2 separate regions of the Homo sapiens genome follow, and region 1 is linked to region 2. The links are contacts of gene promoters, found by promoter capture Hi-C in blood cells and fetal thymus (Javierre and others, 2016). All regions are on one chromosome and are shown on one strand. Each heading gives the region's core, a stretch centred on a gene start or on the middle of the fragment in contact. The rest is flanking DNA. Distances are from core to core; before and after follow the strand shown. Region 1 overlaps ZMYND8 (zinc finger MYND-type containing 8). Region 2 holds the start of NCOA3 (nuclear receptor coactivator 3).

Region 1 (2,700 bases), core at 144-2,643, 260 kb after region 2:
TCCTCTCTGGGGAAGTACAAGGGCCAGCAACATCTCGATAACCATCGAGAACGCCCTCTGAAGTCGGGATAGTCAGCTTGTCTCTTTCCCTCCTTGGCTTCTTAAAACCCACAGCTTACTGAATGAAAATCCTTGCTGGAGTAATCAGGCTCATGTCTTTTTCTGGGTAATACTGATCTTAAAAAGACAGACATAGGCCGGGCGCAGCGGCTCACGCCTGTAATCCCAGCACTTTGGGAGGCCGAGGCGGGTGGATCACAAGGTCAGGAGATTGAGACCATCCTGGCTAACACAGTGAAACCCCGCCTCTACTGAGAATACAAAAAATGAGCTGGGCATGGTGGCGGGCACCTGTAGTCCCAGCTACTCGGGAGGCTAAGGCAGGAGAATGGTGTGAACCCAGGAGGCGGAGCTTGCAGTGAGCCGAGATCGCGCCACTGCACTCCAGCCTGGGTGACAGAGCAAGACTCCATCTCAAAAAAAAAAAAAAAAGAAAAGAAAAAGAGGCAGACATAATCCTTATTTAAAGGAGTTTGATGTCAGGGAGCATAGTCCAAGATCGGGGTGCTGGCTTGTACCTGGGTGTGGTGTGTGTTCCCCAGATATCCTCTCTGGGGCATAGGCTCACCTTACCGGGGGCTGAGGCCTGTGCATCCATAACTGAGCCACCTTTACAAATGAGCTCCCGTGTGGTCATCGCCTCTACGTGCTGCTCAGTGCTTCTGGCTCTAACCTCCCTTCCAGCCCCTCCTCCCTGCCTGCCCTCACTTACTCAAATGCTCTGTATTCCTAGACATATCTTGGCTGATGCTGTTCCCTCCAGATTCTCACTTTCCGCCTGTTGAAATCCTACCCTTTATTCCCCACCAGCCCAGCTCCTCCAAGATGACATACTCCATATGGCAGCGTTTTTCAAACTTGAGTCATTCACATTCATTGTCTTTCCCGTTCTCAAGTCCTGCTTGTATAATTTTTGACTTTTTTTATTTAAAGAATCTTTTTTTTTTTTTTTTTTTTGAGACGGAGTCTCGCCCTGTCACCCAGGCTGGAGTGCAATGGGGCGATTTCGGCTCACTGCAACCTCTGCCTCATGGGTTCAAGCGATTCTCCTGCCTCAGCCTCCCAAGTAGCTGGGATTATAGGCACACACCACCATGCCCGGCTAATTTTTTGTATCTTTAGTAGAGATGGGGTTTCACCATGTTGGCCAGACTGGTTTCGAACTCCTGACTTCGTGATCTGCCCGCCTCGGCCTCCCAAAGTGCTGGGATTACAGGCGTGAGCCACTGCACCCGGCCAAGAATCTCATTCTTTAAAAATAAAATTAAGCTCATTTAAAGCGGGACACAGTAGCACGTCCCGTGTAGTCCCAGCTATTCGGGAGGCTGAAGTGGCTTGCTTGAGCCCAGCCGGGGTGATATAGCAAAACTCTATCTCTTTAAAACATAAAATAAAATAGGCCGGGCACGTTGGCTCACGCCTGTAATTCCAGCACTTTAGGAGGCCAAGGCGGATGGATCATGAGGTCAGGAGTTCAAGACCAGCCTGGGCAAGATGGCGAAACCCCGTCTCTGCTGAAAATAAAAAAAATTAGCTGGGTGCGGTGGCAGGCGCCTGTAATCCCACGTAGTCGGGAGGCTGAGGCAGGAGAATCGCTTGAACTCAGAGGGCGGAGGTTGCAGTGAGCCAAGTTTGTGCCACTGCACTCCACCCTGGGTGACAGAGTGAGAATCCATCTCAATAAATAAATAAAATAAACTCATTTTATTTACTTTTCATTTATTATTATTATTATTTTGAGACGGAGTCTCACCCTGTCACCCAGGCTGGAGTGCAATGGCATGGTCTCGGCTCCCTGCAACCTCCACGTCCCGGGTTCAAGCGATTCTTCTGCCTCAGCCTCTTGAGTAGCTGGGACTACAGGCGCCTGCCACCGCACCCGGCTATTTTTGTATTTTCGGTAGAGACGGGGTTTCACTATGTTGGCCAGGCTGCTCTTGAACTCCTGACCACAAGTGATCCGCCCACCTCAGCCTCCTAAAGTGTTGGGATTACAGGCGTGAGCCACTGCGCCCGGCCTATTAGTAATATTTTTTGAGACGGAGTCTCACTCACTCTTTCTCACAGACCGGAGTGCAGTGGCGCGATCTCGGCTCACTGCAACTTCCGCCTCCTGGGTTCAAGGAATTCTCCTGCCTCAGTTTCCCACCACGTCTGGCTAATTTTTTTGTATTTTTAATAGAGACGGGGTTTCCCCATGTTGGTCAGGCTGGTCTCAAAATCCTGACCTCAAGTGATCCGCCTGCCTCAGCCTCCCGAAGTGCTGGGATTACAGGCGTGAGCCACCGTGCTTGGCCTCATTTTTTTAGTAAAAAAATTTCCCCTGAAAAAAGCATCTGCAAGTATAAACTCATTTTAGACTTGAACACCACCCAATAAGAACAGTAGCACACAGTATACATAAAAGCTGGTGATAGGAATAAATCCAATCAAAACCAAAGCAATGCTACTCAATCCTAGATCAGTACCATTGCGTTGGGGGAAGGTTCTGGCCTTGGGGCAGAATTTGTTTTCCTGGTATTGTCCTGGCTATCAGTACCGCCTTCAAACTTTGTCCTGGAGGGAATCAGAAGAGATGAAAAGAATACTTTTCTTTCTGGGTGACTGAGTGTTACTGCTTTGGCCATTGGGAGGCCATCT
Region 2 (2,700 bases), core at 149-2,648:
GAAGACCTAAGATTTTTATTCCTCCAATCACCTTCTCAACAACCTGCTGCAACAAATACTGAAGCTTTTTTGCAGCCAGGGATCAGTTAGGTGGATCCGAGGCCAGGCATTTAAATCAAAGAGATGCAGCAATCTTACTCAATACTACTACCACTCTCACGCATCTCATTCAACTCCATTTAAAACCACTGCAGCAAGACAGCTGGTACTCTCCTTCCTGTTTCTTTACCGTACAGGCTTAATAACAAAAACAGGTTGGTTTTGAAGCCCTGCTCAAATATTGCAAAAAGGAAGTCTTCGCATTCGGGAGGGGGAAAAAAGTTTCGACTTCGAGAGAATCTCATAGCTTCCGTGTCATTCCATTTGGGAATCCCAGATCCTGCCAGTGAGGTAGATGCTCGCTCTCTCGGTTAACTTTTCCACCCTAGATGCCCTCAAACTGCCTAGGAAGCAACTAAGTCTCCCAACGACCCATGGCTAGTTTTGTTAAGGCAGGTACAAGACAAGCAGTTTATTTAAACCATGACGAACTGGGTCGATGTTCATAAAATGAGAGATGGGGAGAGCAAAAAAAAAAAAAAAGTAGTAATAAAGACAGCCAAACTCCTAATTTTATCAACCAACTTCCCACTTGCCATTTCCCAGCCTTCACACCAGAGGTAGTAAAACGCCTTTTTACCGAGAAAACTAAGAAGCTACCCGAGCCCAACATGAAAATTCCGCGGACAATTCGTGTTAAAATATTTTTTAAATGCCCAAGTGAGGAGGAAACACAGCAACCAAATCTCACCCGGCTGGGAGGCTGGGGTGGGGGGGGTCCCCGCGGCTTTTCCCTCCCGTGCGTCCCAGAAGCTGCTAAGGAGCCGGGGCAGCAGGAGGACGACGCGGGGAGCTTTCAAAAGGGCTGGGGGAGGCAAGAGGAAGAAAAAACTTTAGGGACAGAAGGGGAAAGTGGGCCCCTGCAGTCCCCCCGCAAACTCCTCGGGTGACCCCTCCGCGCGGGGACCCCCTCGGATCCCCAAGCGGACTGCCACCCAGCTTCGTCTCAGCTCCTACCGCCGCGGGCCGCCCCCCGGGCTGAGGGGAAGCGGCGCGGCCCCGACACCCCGAAACTACCTCAGCGCGTCCCCCGGCCGGCGCGCCCCTCAGTGCCTTGGCAGATCTGAAGCCGCTGGCTCTCGCAGCCTGGGGAACTCGCCCCTCTTCCCTCCGCCTCGCACTCCACCCCCTCGCCCGCCACCGCCTCCTCCTTTATCTCCACTCACCTCCCGCCGCCATTTTCCTCGCAGCTCAGCTTTAAATCGGAAACTCGCCGCTCAGCCCGCAGCCGCCGCCGGCCGCCACCGACTAAGCCGCAGCCGCTGCCGTCGCTGTGGAGCGGCTGAGACAGCAGCAGCTAAAGTCGCCGCACGGGGGCCACTGGGATATGTAGTCCCGAGGCCACGCCCAGCACTACCGGTCCCAGGGGGCCTTGCGCGGCCGGCCTAGGGTTCCAGCGACCCCCACCCTGGCTTCCGCGGCGGAGGGCGTGGCGACGTGGGCTCGTGCGGCCGCTTTCGCCCAGCATCGACTGGGAGCTCCCTCGGGATCCGGAGAACCGGAATGCAGTCCTAGCCCTGCCCTTAATTTTTTTCATATTTGCCTTCGTCCAGTAATACCTAACATTTGTGGAGCGTTTCTGGTATGCCAAGCACGGATCCTCAAAACAAGCATCCGGTAGGGACCATGATCATCCTCATTTTTCAGATGAGCGAACTGAGGCACAAGGTCGGAAGCCACGAGGCTGTTCCTTAGCTGCTAAAGTCACTGGGTGAAATGTTGTTGGGCAGCAGTATATTCAGGGTATATTTAGTCCCGAAGTATCATCCCACAGCGTATTTATGACTTACAATAAAGAACAGCTTGCTTTACAATGGAAAGATCTGGCAGGCACCCCCTTACCAAGTGATCGAACTTAGCACCACCAATAATGGGTCAGGACTGTTGTTATGTGTCTCCTAATATGATGCAGTGGGGAAAGCATATTGCTACCTCTGTCGTATTCTTGCCACATACACACAAAAAGCTTACTTGAAAAAATAAACGAATTCAGAATGTGGGACATTCTACACAACATCTAGCCTGGAGTCTTTTAAAATATGACAGCATGAAAGAGGTGAAAACCAAAAGCAATAGGTGAGACTTGATTGGATTCAGGATGATTTTTTTATGTAAAAAGAATTTGGGGGGCAATTTCAATGTGGACTGTATGTTAGATAATATTGAGTCAGTATTAGATGTGTTGAGTGTAAATAAAATAGAATAATCTGACCACTTACCACCTCCACGGTCAGCACCATCATTTCCCACCTGGACCACTGCAACAGCCTCCTCAGTGTTCTGCCTGCTTCCACTCTTTCCTCTTAGAGTCTATACTCAACACAGCAGCCAGAGGAATCCTGGTAAGAACCAAGTCAGTCTCTGTCCCTCCTGCAAAATTCTTGCAGTAACCTGCAAAGCCCCATACAGCCCGTCTCTTGCCCTGCCCTTCCCTCTCTAAACTCATCACCTTCTTCTCTTCCACTCACTTCTGTAACTCAGCTACAATGGACTCGGCCTCTCCAACGTGCTTAGCACACTCTGGCCTTAAAGATCGTGCACTTGCTATTTCCTCTGCCTAGAACAGTATTTTCCCAGAAAATTCAAATAACCCATTCCCTA

The links. The method cuts DNA at HindIII sites, captures the fragments that hold promoters and counts their contacts. A CHiCAGO score of 5 or more calls a contact.
Region 1: a fragment that was not itself captured here is called in contact with the fragment with the promoter of NCOA3 in region 2 in 1 of 17 cell types (activated CD4 T cells); the score reaches 6.0 in activated CD4 T cells.

The regions. Positions count from the first base shown.
Region 1 is chr20:47,239,612-47,242,311 of GRCh38, reverse strand. All of the region lies in intron 14 of ZMYND8 (zinc finger MYND-type containing 8), which reads left to right. Among named protein-coding and RNA genes, the nearest start is that of MIR3616, 74 kb to the right of the region's middle. The HindIII fragment of the contact is 5,013 bases long and covers 1-2,700 here.
Region 2 is chr20:47,500,585-47,503,284 of GRCh38, reverse strand. It overlaps NCOA3 (nuclear receptor coactivator 3), which reads right to left and starts at 1,398. Exons shown (of 23, transcript NM_181659.3): 1 at 1,266-1,398. RefSeq lists a silencer at 1,039-1,158 and a cis regulatory region at 2,410-2,482. The HindIII fragment of the contact is 2,001 bases long and covers 67-2,067 here.